Regions from separate parts of the Homo sapiens genome. Here regions 2, 3, 4 and 5 are each linked to region 1. The links are contacts of gene promoters, found by promoter capture Hi-C in blood cells and fetal thymus (Javierre and others, 2016). All regions are on one chromosome and are shown on one strand. Each heading gives the region's core, a stretch centred on a gene start or on the middle of the fragment in contact. The rest is flanking DNA. Distances are from core to core; before and after follow the strand shown.

Region 1 (2,575 bases), core at 24-2,523:
CGGATCACCTGATGTAAGGAGTTTACGACCAGCCTAGCCAGCATTGTGAAACCCCCTCTCTACTAAAAACACAAAAATTAGCCAGGCGTGGCAGCAGGGGTCTATAATCCCAGCAACTGACTAGGGAGGCTGAGGCACCAAGAATAACTGGAACCTGGGATGCAGTGGTTGCAGTGAGTGGAGAGTGCGTCATTGCACTCCAGCCTGGGTGACAGAGGGACTCTGTCTCAAAAAAAGTGGGGGGTGCACGGGACTTGGTTGACCTGGATGGCATGCAAGGGGTGGGGAGGGACCAAGGAGGTGCTGGGTCTATGGGACTTGCTCCTATGTATCCATCAGTGATCTGGTTGGCGCCATGGAGGCTGGGGCGAAGGCGGAGGGGGGGTGGGGGGTAGCGGGGAGCTAGGTTGTAAATTGACAGTTGTCCCCAGGCAATCCCCTGGTATGGGAAAGTTCCAGAGGTCCCTGGTTTAAGCTTCGGTCCTTGGAACTAATAAGCGAACACATAATTAGATAAGCTTACAGTGTAGAGAGTGTCTGGTGGAGAGAAGGTAAAGGTTAATTGGATTTTTTTTTTTGACAGGTGTCATTCTGTCGCCCAGGGTGGAGTGCAGTGGCGTTATCGTGGCTCATTGCAGTCTTTACCTCCCAGGGCTCAGGTGATCCTCCCACCTCAGCCTCCCCAATGGCTGGGACTACAGGCCGATCTCGCCTGCCTCGGCCTCCCAAAGTGCTGGGATTACAGACGTGAGCCACAGCACCCACCCTATAATTGCATTCCTAAAGAGCTAAATAGGAGGTGGGGTGAAAGGAGAAAAGTAAAAATAATTCATTTTTCTAAGAAAATGGGTAGTTGGTCACACTCCTATTTACTAGGGCCTTTGCACATGTTCTCATCTGCACTGTGCTTCCCTCTCTTTTTCTATTTAACTATTTATCTTCCAGATCTCAGCTGCAGCCGCAGTTTCTTAGGATAACCTTCTCCAACTTCTCGAAGATACTCACCATGATTAATTGATTAGTGTGTTATACTAGGCAGATAGTTCCACGAAGAGAAGCTCTGTATCTCTCAGTCTCACTGTATGCGGAGTGGGTAGCTCTGCACCTAGGATGCTCAATAAGAACGGTATTTATGAACTGAACGACAGAAGGTTGAACGACTGCCCACTTATGCACTGAGCCTTCCGGAGGGACGAGTCTACAGGGGTCGCGCGTCGTAACGACGTCACTTCCGTCGGAAGGTTCTCATGAGGAGCCACTCAGATTCCTGTCACTTCTCAAAGCATCTCCGTCGTGAACATGGCCCTGCCACCATTCTTCGGCCAGGGTCGCCCAGGCCCACCGCCCCCGCAGCCGCCGCCTCCTGCTCCTTTCGGCTGTCCGCCACCGCCGCTGCCCTCCCCGGCTTTCCCGCCGCCTCTCCCCCAGCGGCCCGGCCCTTTTCCGGGGGCCTCCGCCCCCTTCCTTCAGCCTCCGCTGGCTCTGCAGCCCCGAGCCTCCGCGGAGGCCTCCCGCGGCGGAGGCGGCGCTGGCGCCTTCTACCCGGTGCCACCACCGCCGCTGCCTCCTCCGCCGCCCCAGTGTCGGCCCTTCCCGGGGACCGACGCCGGCGAGCGGCCGCGGCCACCGCCTCCCGGCCCGGGGCCGCCCTGGAGCCCGCGGTGGCCTGAGGCGCCGCCGCCGCCGGCCGACGTGCTCGGGGATGCGGCCCTCCAACGCCTGCGCGACCGGCAGTGGCTGGAGGCGGTGTTCGGGACCCCGCGGCGGGCAGGCTGTCCGGTGCCCCAGCGCACGCATGCCGGGCCCAGCCTTGGCGAAGTGCGCGCGCGATTGCTCCGGGCTCTGCGCCTGGTGCGGCGGCTGCGCGGCCTGAGCCAGGCCCTGCGCGAGGCCGAAGCCGACGGCGCGGCCTGGGTCCTGCTGTACTCCCAGACCGCGCCGCTGCGCGCGGAACTGGCCGAGCGGCTACAGCCGTTGACCCAGGCTGCCTATGTGGGCGAGGCGCGGAGGAGGCTGGAGAGGGTCCGGCGCCGCCGGCTGCGGCTTCGCGAGAGGGCCCGGGAACGCGAGGCCGAGCGGGAGGCAGAGGCCGCGCGGGCAGTGGAACGCGAGCAGGAGATTGACCGCTGGAGGGTGAAGTGTGTGCAGGAGGTGGAGGAGAAGAAGCGGGTGAGAGCAGCGGCCGCTCATGGGGGTAGGAGTGGTGGTGGTTGGAACCTGGAGCAGCAGGAGGCTTTAAACTTCCATTTCCCAGGGCTAAGCCTCTGTTTTACGCGCAAAATGAAGCGATAGCTAACCTTCCCAGCTCATACCACCATGTTAATTTTGTGTTAATGATGTGTGGTACACAAAAGTTCCAGGTGCACTGTAAAATCCTGTAAACACAAAGTATAGGATTACACGGTGGCACTGCACGAATGACAGGTCTCCCCTATCCTGCTCCAACATTGTCCACTTACTCTCAAAACCAGTAAGTGTCTAGTTCCTTGTGTCTTGTACTGCCCTAGGTGGTTTTAAGAATACAAAATACAGGCCGGGCGCGGTGGCCCACGCCTGTAATCCCAGCACTTTGGGA
Region 2 (2,575 bases), core at 47-2,546, 980 kb after region 1:
ACCCTACATGCCATCAGGAGGGCAGCACAGGACCTCACCATGGAGGGGACAGGACCTGGGTTTCATGGAGCTGGGACTACCTGTGTCCGTTACCTCTTTCAGTCCTTTCAACAAGCCAGAGGGGGGTGTTTGGACCTATATTAGACTCAGAAAATTGATGCTTGAGGTGGTGAATAACATCCCCAAGTTGTGGGTTCCCTCCCTGCCATGCCCCCACACCTCTCTGTCTGGGCCACACCCCTGGCACAGAAGGCCGGGGGGCAACCAACTGTGCTCTCGCATACCTGGATGTAAGCCTCCAAGCCCTGCCGGCGCTGTTCCAACCCTCTGGTCCTCCAGTTGGGCAGGCGTTTCGAGGGGAAGTCGGGCACTTTGTACAGCTTCTTGATCTACTGGAGGTTTACCGCGTGCGATCACAGCATCCCGACTGAGCCCTCAAGCCCTCTTCGCCCCAGCCAGAAGCCCTCCCGCGCCCCCGCCTTCGGGCTCTACTGGGACAGACCCTGGTGAGTGGTGGACCGGCCGAGGGCGAGGAAGGCCCCAACCCACCCACAGAGGCCCGGGGGCTGACCGGCTGCGCAGGGACTGAGGCAGTAATGGGGGTGGCGGAGGCTGGGGCTCGCCCGCCCGCCTCACAGGGCCTGGGCGGGGGCTGGACAGAGGCTGGGCCGGGGCCGGTGGGAGGTCGGCGCCGCCTCACCCGCTTGTGCAGCGCGTGGAACTCGCTGTAGCGCCTTGGCACCGTGTGTCTGCGCCCGCTGCACAGCACCTCCACTCGGAACACCTGGCGGCGCGGGCGGGCAGCGGGTCTGCGCGTGAGGCCCCGCGGGAGGACGCCGCAGCACCTGCGCCTGGCGACGTGCCCACCCTCCCGCTCTCAAAGGCACAAAGCGGCCTTGCGGCGCCGCGGCTGCCCGGGGACTCTCCGCTCCCGCACACCTGGGAGAACCGGCTGGCGGACCTGCCCCTCGGAGCCCTGGGGTCCCTCAAGAGCTCGAACCATGGTCCGCGAGGCTGGCAAATCCAAGCGGCCCCCAAACCCTCGACAAGGTTTCCCCCGACGGTCCAGCCCGCAGCGCTCGTTCACCCAGGCCCGGGCCCCGGGTCCCCACTGAGCGCAGCGCGGGGAAATCCTGCGGGTCCCGGCGCCCCTCCCCATCCAGGGGCCGCGCTCACCATGTGGCTTTTCTCCGGGCTCTGCCTGGGCCCCTCGGCCTCGGGCCCCACCGACGGGATGTGAACTTCCAGCATCCGCGCCCCGGCCCCAGCTGCTCCGCGCGCTCGGCTCGGAGCCCTAACTCTCCCGGAGCGGACTGAGGACCCCGGGGCGGCCGGCTCCGCCCCCTCGGTCCGCAGGCCCCACCCCAGGCCCCGCCCCCAGGCGACCCCGCCCCGGGCGTTCCCTTGCGCCGCGGGTCCTGAGCCTAGAAGATTAGGCGGGACCTGGACGCCGCCCCCGAAGTCTAGTGCGCCCACAGCGCGGGGCAGTGGAGTCAACCGTTTGTCAAACATTGACGGAGCACTCACTGATGCCAGGAACTGGCGAGCGAAAATGTCACCCAACCTGAGTTAAGCGCCTACCAAGGACGGCCTGTGGCTCCAGGCGCGGACGGAGGCGGGGCCCGGGCCTCAGCGCCGGTCCTGGGGCCAACCAGGGACCTGTCTTGGGTTCCTCAGTCCCTTCCCGAGCCTTTCCCTCCTTTCAGCCTGGTCCCTGAAATTGTGATCTGGATTCCCCGGCTGAGGCCACACCTGAGCAAGGCTTGGACCCAGTCCAGCTTTGATGCCCCTTTCCCCAGCATCCACAGGCCCCCCCATTCATTCATTGTTTTCATCCATCCATTCACTCATATCTTCCAACCCTAAGGGGCTCCAGGCTGTTTGTGGGGAAGAGGCAGTTTAGGGACCTAGACTCCGATTTGGACGTCAGACTGCCTGGATTTCAGGAGCTCCGTAGACCTTTGCTCATCTGCAAAATAGGGATAACGTGGCTCCTTCAGGCAAGTGTATAAAGTGAGATGATTTGGCCGGGCGCGGTGGCTCACGCCTGTAATCCCAGCACTTTGGGAGGCCGAGGTAGGCGGATCACCTGAGGTCAGGAGTTCGAGACCAGCCTGACCAACATGGTGAAACCCCGTACCTACTAAAAATACAAAAATCAACCAGGTGTGGTGGCACATGCCTGTAATCCCAGCTACTCAGGAGGCTGAGGCGGGAGAATCACTTGAACCTGAGAGGCGGAGGTTGCAGTGAGCCGAGATCAAACCATTGCACTCCAGACTGGGCAACAGCAAGACTCTGTCTTAAAAAAAAAAAAAAGTGAGATGATTCATGTTAGGCCCTTAACAGAAGCATTGAGCAGCAGCTTGACTGTGGGCTTCTCCTGGATGACTAGGATAAGTGGGCACAGGGCAGTGGATGGGAAGAGAGACTTTGGGGGGTGGCACCGGGTTGCTCTTGTCCACCCCTCCGGGCAGGTTCTTCCTGGATATGTGGCAGGATTTTGATCCAGAACTCTCTCAGGCCATGTGCTGGAAAGGACCTCTGCTCCCACCTCTCAGCCCTGCACCCTTCA
Region 3 (2,575 bases), core at 40-2,539, 740 kb before region 1:
TTCCGTATCTTATAATAAATATTTAATGTAACCAAAAGAGCACACAACTTCCTCCCACCCCCAACCTTTTGGGAAAGGTATGTGGCTAACTAGGGCTCTTCCCTTCCTGTTGGATCCTCCCAGCGTTGCAGCAGGAAGCAACCAGTTCATAGAGATAAAGCAAGCTAGTATTTGTGCAGCGCACAACCTTTCCTGCTCAGGAACCAGGCCTTCAGGTCTGGCAAGGATAACAGCCACCACCCATCCGCAACCTCATCTCGCGAACCGAGTAAAGAGTTATCCCGGGTTGGGTGCCACTGAGTAGGGAGGGCAAGAAAAGAAAAGGCTAGGTGGGAAGTAATGTCAGCCTGCCGGGTCACTGCGACAAGTGCGCGAGTGGGTGATGGGCGATCCCTCTTACCCTCCCTCCCACCACCCAGGTCGCAACGGAGACAAGGGAGCTCTAAACACGATTTGGGGAGGGAAGGTAGAGAGAGTTGCCAAATGGGGAGTGGGAGAGGGAGCGGTCAGAGAAGGTTAAGGACCGCGAGAACCGCGGGGCGGAGGGTGGGGGCGGAGGCCCTTGGCCCGCTCAGATTTTACGGGGTCCTGGACCCGGGATGGGAGAAGCTTAGAGGGGCGGCCGTCCAAGTGGAGGGGAGATACAGAAGAGACGCTCGCTCGAGGGGGGAAAGAGGGCAGATAAGAAAAAGACCTGTAATGGGAGTCTGCACCGAAGGCAAGGCCAAGAGGGAAGCGAAGAACCCGTCAGAGGGGCTTCGGGAGAGGACGCGAGCTGGGAAGGGTGTACGCCGAGGGGGAGGGGGCGCTACACCCGAAAAGAGAGATGGTGGGAGGAGCGGCGGGGCCGTAGAACCCGGGGAAAGGAATTCGACGATGTGGGAGAAGGCAGTCCGCCAGGGGAAGGACACGCAGGGAGGGGCTCTGAGGCCAGCGAAGGCCTATGGAGAGGTCGCTCAGAGAGCGGCATGTGATGGGGACCCCTGTCTGAGCGGGGGAGAAGAGGCTGAGCTGGGTAGGAGACGGAACCGCACAAAAAGGAAGGGCTGAGGGAGGCCTATATCAGTGCAGGGGTGGCCGGCACGAGGGTCCACCGGGAGTGGCCCGGGTCCCCGAACGAGGACTGTGTAGAGTGCGAGAGCCCATGGCCTCACCTTTAAAGAGGTAGTCGTACTCGTCGTCGCGGGTGCCCATTGCGCGGCCGAGGAGCGAAAGGGCGGGAGCAGCAGTGGTATCTGTGGGACCAGGGGGCGTCGCTGCAGGGGTAACCCGAGCGCCGAGCTTCAACTGCCGGACTGGGTGAAGAGCCCCTCCCTGCCGCTGCGCCATTTCCGGCAGGCCCCAGCCTTTAAGGGGAAGTACTTCCGGGGGCGGCGCCCCGCCCCTGAGCCCAACAAGGGCGGTGTGCGCGAGAGTCGAGATGCGTGGGGCTTCAAGCTTTAGTCGCTAAAGGAGGCTCAAAGGGGAAACTGAGTCCTGGAACTCCTAGCTACCATAGTCTTAGTGGCCGCTTGCTCATTTCTCGAGCTACCGTGCCGGAAGCGGCTCGCTGGAACCAGGCGGGACCGCCTGTGAGTGGTGGGTTTGTGGATGGGGGCGGGGTTCTCTGAGGATTAGACAGCCGAAGGCAGCTACACATGCGTGGCGGTTCCATGGTGTAATGGTTAGCACTCTGGACTCTGAATCCAGCGATCCGAGTTCAAATCTCGGTGGAACCTGCATTGGTTTTTGTTTTTTTAATCTTGACAACATCTTTAATTCACTTTTTTGGTCACTAAGTAATTGAACAACTATGACACATCTTAAGATGGAGATGTAAAATTTAATCCTTGCCTATGAAGACCTCACAAATTTCCCACTGCATTTCAGGTGCTATCTGCTACCTGGCGGGGGGTTGTCTTAATGAGCTTCTTCACTGCCTTTTTTTTAACCCTGGGCTTTCAAGCCTTGATTCAAAAGCTTCAGTGAAACTTGAAAATTCCTTTTGCTGGAATTTTCTACCTCCAGCTTCATGCACGGGTAGGCGCTTGTCACTCACTCCTCTCCGGAAATCTCGCAATCTATCTCATTTTCATTTAGAGTACTTCGCCCACCCTCCTCATCAAGATTCATCAAGAACTTGAGTCCTATTTGTAGGCCTCTAATCTAAGTCCGTTTACATAAGTATTTCATTTAACATGCCAAGCAAAGGATGGTAATTTCCATTTTAGCGGAAGTTTGGATACTAAGACTCAAGTGATTTGCCAGATATCATGTCGCAGGGCCTCCCTGTATTTGAAGAGAATTTTGTCATTCCAGAAAAGCCTTTATCCAATTATTGTCACACCTCCTACCTCCTATATGCAAACTCTCGATTTAGACTTGTGGGCAAGTATGCCTATAACAAGCAGAATAATGCCCCCTGCCAATGATGTCCACTTCCCAATTCCTGGAGACTGAATAGGTTAGGTTACATGGCAAAGGGGAATTGAGGTTACAGATGAAATTAAGGTTGCTTATCAGCTGACATTAAATTAGGGATATTATCCTGGATTAGTTGGGTGGGCCCAGTGTTGTCATAAGGTCCTTAAAAGTA
Region 4 (2,575 bases), core at 35-2,534, 670 kb after region 1:
CAGAGCAAAGCCTAATACAGAAAAGGGAGGCCTGTAGGGGCTTGGGGACTCTCCTCAACCCCTTAGGCTCTGGACACATGGCTGGAAACAGACAGGCTTTCTTCCCTATCTTTCTCACTCTCATTTAGGTAGGGAGCTGTTTCTTAGAGAATTTAATCATCCGTGATTTGTTCAGAAATATTCCCCCTGAAGGGCTCTGATCTCTCCACCCTGTGTGAGCCTAATTCCTCGAAGCTGAAATGACTGTTTGCTGCTGCCTGTTTCACAAACACACATTAATTGGTCAGATGTGTCTCCTCCTCCTCAACCCCAGAGGGAGGAAGGAGAATCTGAGCAAAGCACAGAGATGATCCAACCGTAATTACACATAAAGGGAAAAGAGGGCAGCATGGGTTTTCCAAACAGGATAGGGTCACAAACCCTCCCGGGGGTACAAGGATAGCAGTTGAGGTCCAGGCCCAGGGATCCCTCCATCTTGAAGAAAAGGACAGGAGTAAATGTGACCTGAAGACTGTTAGGGGCACACACCCACAACCTACTTACTGCAGGATCCCAGCCACCTTGCTCCCCACTCCTAGGTCACGCACACGTCCTGCTTCCGACCCTATGCTCTGAACAACCACCACCGCCCCCGCCCCCCCTCCCCCGCCAACTCCCTGACTGGCCCCAGTCGCCCCGAGCGCCCTCAACATACCCAGACTCGCCTCAGAAACTCTCTGGCCTGCTCCCATAACCTAGCCAGACCCTAATCCCCTCCCGGGCACCCCTACCCTCAGCCTGAACCGGCCGTGGCCACGCTTTGAACTTCACCCCGCGCCCCTCGACGCCCCCTCCCCCACCCACGCAACGACCCCCCCTACACACCTTCCCCTCGCTCCGCCCCAGCCCCCCCAACCCCCACTTCCTCCGTCAGGCAGCGCCGCCGCCCCCGGCCCCCATCAGATCCCCTCAGCCCCGCGCCCCATCGGTGCCGCCGCCTCTTTCCTCCCCCAGTCCCGGCTCCACACAAAGCTCCGGACTCACCGCGCGGCCGGTCCCGGGAGCCGCCACCTCCGCCCGCCCGGGGCCCCGGGCCGTAGAGCCGCCGCTGCTACGGGGCCCAGGCCGCCATCCGTTCCCGCGGCCCCTCCCCCCCACCCCACCCCGGCTCCGGCTCCGGCTCCGGCTCTGGCTCTCTGCCCCCTCCCCGCGCCTCTCCGCCCCGCCCGGCCGGTGCCGCTGTGTCCGGGGCCGCGGGTCCCTCAGCCGCCGCCACCGCCGCCGCCGCCGCGATCCGGGACAACCAGAGTCACCCGGAAGACGCGGACACTGGACTGCCAGGCCCTCGGATCCGGATTCCGCGCTTGTGTGGAGTCTGGAGCCGGTGAGCGCAGGGGAAACCCGGAACCTGGATGAAGGAGCGAAATCCTGGGTCTCGGAATGCGCGCTCACCCGGAGCCCAGATTAGGGAGTCTTAGCTCAGGGAATGCTGGAAAACCCGGCGTGCCGGTTAGAACCAAGATAAACTCAAAGAAACCTGGATTAGAGAGCTCGAACCTAACGCTGTCCCCTCGTGGGCAGTAGAACTCTCGCTGGATCAGACTTCCTCATAGAGAGGTCTCTGGGGGGAGTATTGCACCTTATAACACAGAAGACACCTCTTCTGTAGTTGTCCTTCAACCACAGAGAGGAAAGGGCCGTAGGGGATCTGAACATGGGCATCCACAAAGAACAGAAGAGCAATCACAGCTCCTGATGGTTTCATCCATTTTACCCCTTAGTTCAGCAAAGTACCAACCTCCTAATTTTTTATCCTTTGTTCTCCAGCTTTCTCTTTTAGGATTACCACTTGCTTTTCTCCCCAAAGCACCCATTTCTAATCCCTCTATATATCCCTTTTCCCCTCACCATCCTCTATCACTAAATCTTGTTGCCTTTTATTATCTAAAAACCTTATTCTGTCCTTCTCCAACCCACCATTCTAAGGATTGTAGCTTTTATTTTTCCTTATCTGCTATTCATCTCTGATTGCCCAGCATACTATCTAGTGCACAGTAGGCATTCAGTCCATGTTTAAGTGAGCCCTCCCACCCAGCTTTCACTTGTGAAACATCTATTCATGACGACCTCCTAAGACTTCCATCTCATTCCATAGCAAACAAATTTACCTTAATTCTCAAGGCCTCCCACATCCTAGCCCCTATTATGTCCTTCCTGTGTCCTTGACCATTTTATTTTGCTTTGCATTTATCTTACCTTTTTTCCCTTATCCTGGGGCATCCTTCAACAGTGCCACTCAAGATAGCATGTGACTTGGAGATAAAGTGAGGTCATAAAAAGGTGGGGGGAGGGGTTGATAGCTAAAGATAAAAGTAAACCTTTCTGGTCTAGGAAAAATAATCTCTCTTTGGTCCACCAATAGTCATGTTGTTAGACAGTACAGGGGCAGAACTGATCCCAGGTGACAGCGAACTTCCAATGTATACTAGACAAAGTTACAAGTGAGGATTCAGCTACTTAGCAGGTGGAGACAGAGAAGGGTTTAGTGTTTTAGACTTAGGCATGATTTAATTAAGGATTAAACATTCCAGTAGTC
Region 5 (2,575 bases), core at 42-2,541, 660 kb before region 1:
AGTGGCACAATCTCGGCTCACTGCAGCCTCCGGCTCTGGGGCTCAAGCGATCCTCCCACCTCAGCCTCTCAAGTAGCTGGGACCACAGGCGCACGCCACCACGCCCGGCTAATTTTTTGTATTTTTGGTGGAGACAGGGTTCTCGCCATTTTGCCAGGCTAGTCTTGAACTTCTGAGCTCAAGCTGACCCTCTTGCCTCGGCCTCCCTAAGCGTTGGGATTACAGGCATGAGCAAAGGCGCCTGGCCTCAGTTATTTTTCTAACCTTTATAGCATGTTTCCCCTTAAAATGTGCTTAAGTACTTTTTTATTGTCCCTCTTCTCCCACTAAACTGCAGTTTCCTGAAGGCAAAGGTTTTCTGTTTCCCTCACCACTGTGCACCCTCTGTATGGATGTTTGTTGACTGAATGAATGAATACAATGAAAGAACTGGAGGTAGGAAATAAAGTTGTAAACTTGGTTAGTAAAAGGCTATGCAATTTAGGAAAAGTTGACTTTAAAGCAGAGGGATTTTGGGGGTCCTGTTTCTTCTTTCATTTGTCCATGGAATAATGTCTAACATTTATTGAGTACTTTCAAGCACTATACTAAGTACTTCACAGGTACTATAGAATTTAACTCCCGAGCAACCCCATGGGGGTAATCAAGCTTTATTAACCTCATCTGTCAACAGCCATCAATGGTGGAGAGCCACAGTCAGGTTTAAGTAGGCCGTATCCAATTAATCCAAAGTAATCGACACCCCGTCAGTCAACAATAGCTGTTTCATCAACGTACTTTTCGGAGAAACCCCCTGAATTCCCCGCTTTACCTTTCTATCTTGGGACCGAAACCTACTCGGCGGTTGCTAACCCTTAAGGGAGTTTCCTGGAGAATGTGAGCACCCTTGGTGGAGGAGCAGCAGCTGCTCAGATCTAGCAAGTCTGAGACGAACCGAGCAAGGCAATCTCAGGACTCCCAGAGTGCCGGGGAGGAAGGAAGAAACAGGTCAGTTGGCGCGAACTGGATTCTTGTGCCTCTGGGTGACGAAAGGTGAAGGGATTGTACGCTTCGCCCACGCCAGCCTGGGGCTCGGGATCTCCTGACCCGACGGGGAACCACGGTGCGTTTCCCCAACTACACCGCACGTCACGGACTAAGGCGACTTAGTCCCGCCCACCTTCACCGCCCCATTATCAGTTTGGCGCTAGGACCCCACGACCCTCAACTCGGCCCTCTCCTCCCACTCGGGCCAGATCCGGCCTTCGATTGGTGCTCGCGGGCGTGATTCCCGCCCCCGCCCCTTCCGTCATTGCCAAGATGGCGCCGGTCGCGGTGGCCGCGGAGGCTAGAGTCGGAGAAAGAGGCGGAGGCAGTGGCGGCCGCGAGGGGAGGGGGAGTCCCGTCTGACTGAGACGGCAGGCCTGGGCGGGCGGGCGGGGGTGCCGCGAAGGGCGGAGCGCCGGGCTGGGGATGAGCTAAGCGGGCTCAGAGCGCCGCGGCATTCAGCCCCTCGTGTTCCGCTACCGCGCGTGCGGGATTCCGGCGCCGCTCTCCGAGCTCGATCCGCTGCTCGCACGGGAGCCAGCTGGGTGGTGAGTGCGGGGGCGGCGACCCGGGCAGCGGTGGCAGGTGGAGCTGTCACGGCCCGGAGAGGTGACAGCCGGGGGCGCGGGAGCGGGGCGGGTGGGTTCGGGGAGGAGGCACGGATGGCCGAGATCTCCGCCCGAGAGCTCCTGAGATCCGGGAGGTGCTCCGCGGCTCGGTCCGCCCCGGGATGGCGCGGCGGTGCTGAGAGTAGCACCCGCGCCTCTGCGTCGGACGCGTGGGGGGCTCCTGTGTTTTCATTCCAGATTTTCTATTCCAGGCTGGCCTGGGGCTGTTGTTATTTGGGAGTGGGGGCGGGGAGGGGGAGGTCCTGGATCTGGGATTTTGACAAGCCCGTTACGTAAGTCGGAGGTGGCTTCCCGGAATCCCACCTGCTCGGTATCTGAGACAGGCGGCGGGGGGAGCCCGGGGTGCCTGCAGGCCCACTTTTCCTCCCAGGGTCTGTTCAGCCTTCCCCGGCCCGCGGGCACGGGTTCTGCGTGAGCGCGGCCAGCGTCCAAGTTGACCAGTTTTTTTTCTAGTCTTTTTGGGGGGGTGTGTGGTGGGGGAAGGGAACTGTTCCTGGTTACCACCATTCCCTTTGAAGTTTATTGTTTTCTGGAGGTGGGGGGCAGGAAAAACAGTAAAAAGCTTGTGACCTAAAATTGGGTCGCAGCGACAGCTTTTCATTATCGTGCTTTTAAATGACAGATGTGCTGGAAGATTGTTGTTGTTGTTCCAATGTGCTTTTAATTCAAACGTATGGTTACGCCTAGAACCGTAGAGAGAGGTTTTTGTCTTATAGGACAGTTATTTCTTGTTTGCAACAGCAGGACAGGCATCAGTCAACAGGCATGTATTTATTTGAGGAGAAAACGCGTGTCAGCCAGCTAGAGACCCGTGAGGGCAGAAATTGTATTACTCTGTGAATATGTTATTCTTTAAAATGTATTATACGTTAATGAAAAGAATAGCCCGAATGTAAAAGAAGTCTTAGAAGATTACAAGC

Evidence for each region. Contacts are between HindIII fragments. The CHiCAGO score rates a contact against its expected background, and 5 or more counts as called.
Region 2: a contact is called between the fragment with the promoter of SNX22 here and the fragment with the promoter of PDCD7 in region 1, in 10 of 17 cell types (total CD8 T cells, naive CD8 T cells, naive CD4 T cells and 7 more). The highest score is 12.0, in total CD8 T cells.
Region 3: a contact is called between the fragment with the promoter of RAB11A here and the fragment with the promoter of PDCD7 in region 1, in 2 of 17 cell types (fetal thymus and total B cells). The highest score is 8.2, in fetal thymus.
Region 4: a contact is called between the fragment with the promoter of ZNF609 here and the fragment with the promoter of PDCD7 in region 1, in 1 of 17 cell types (neutrophils). The highest score is 5.4, in neutrophils.
Region 5: a contact is called between the fragment with the promoter of DENND4A here and the fragment with the promoter of PDCD7 in region 1, in 1 of 17 cell types (fetal thymus). The highest score is 8.7, in fetal thymus.

The regions. Positions count from the first base shown.
Region 1 is chr15:65,132,506-65,135,080 of GRCh38, reverse strand. It overlaps PDCD7 (programmed cell death 7), which reads left to right and starts at 1,273. Exons shown (of 5, transcript NM_005707.2): 1 at 1,273-2,169. The coding sequence starts at 1,300. RefSeq lists an enhancer at 988-1,087 and silencers at 1,378-1,587, 1,648-2,047. The HindIII fragment of the contact is 3,462 bases long and covers 521-2,575 here.
Region 2 is chr15:64,150,452-64,153,026 of GRCh38, reverse strand. It overlaps SNX22 (sorting nexin 22), which reads right to left and starts at 1,296. Exons shown (of 7, transcript NM_024798.3): 1 at 1,177-1,296; 2 at 701-784; 3 at 285-389. The coding sequence starts at 1,251. RefSeq lists silencers at 591-970, 1,171-1,610 and an enhancer at 2,528-2,575. The HindIII fragment of the contact is 12,291 bases long and covers 1-2,575 here.
Region 3 is chr15:65,868,205-65,870,779 of GRCh38, reverse strand. RAB11A (RAB11A, member RAS oncogene family) reads right to left here and starts at 1,289. Exons shown (of 5, transcript NM_004663.5): 1 at 1,155-1,289. The coding sequence starts at 1,194. TRQ-CTG1-4 (tRNA-Gln (anticodon CTG) 1-4) reads left to right here and starts at 1,647; the gene lies at 1,647-1,718. RefSeq lists an enhancer at 1,416-1,475. The HindIII fragment of the contact is 828 bases long and covers 612-1,439 here.
Region 4 is chr15:64,459,287-64,461,861 of GRCh38, reverse strand. ZNF609 (zinc finger protein 609) reads right to left here and starts at 1,284. Exons shown (of 10, transcript NM_015042.2): 1 at 1,024-1,284. It overlaps LOC105370861 (a long non-coding RNA gene), which reads left to right and starts at 1,275. Exons shown (of 3, transcript XR_932367.3): 1 at 1,275-1,363. RefSeq lists silencers at 953-1,052, 1,113-1,232 and an enhancer at 1,693-1,762. The HindIII fragment of the contact is 12,937 bases long and covers 1-2,575 here.
Region 5 is chr15:65,791,009-65,793,583 of GRCh38, reverse strand. It overlaps DENND4A (DENN domain containing 4A), which reads left to right and starts at 1,291. Exons shown (of 33, transcript NM_001320835.1): 1 at 1,291-1,574. LOC105370866 (a long non-coding RNA gene) reads right to left here and starts at 1,111. Exons shown (of 3, transcript XR_932372.2): 1 at 812-1,111. RefSeq lists enhancers at 595-1,214, 438-1,403 and a silencer at 1,405-1,734. The HindIII fragment of the contact is 1,569 bases long and covers 651-2,219 here.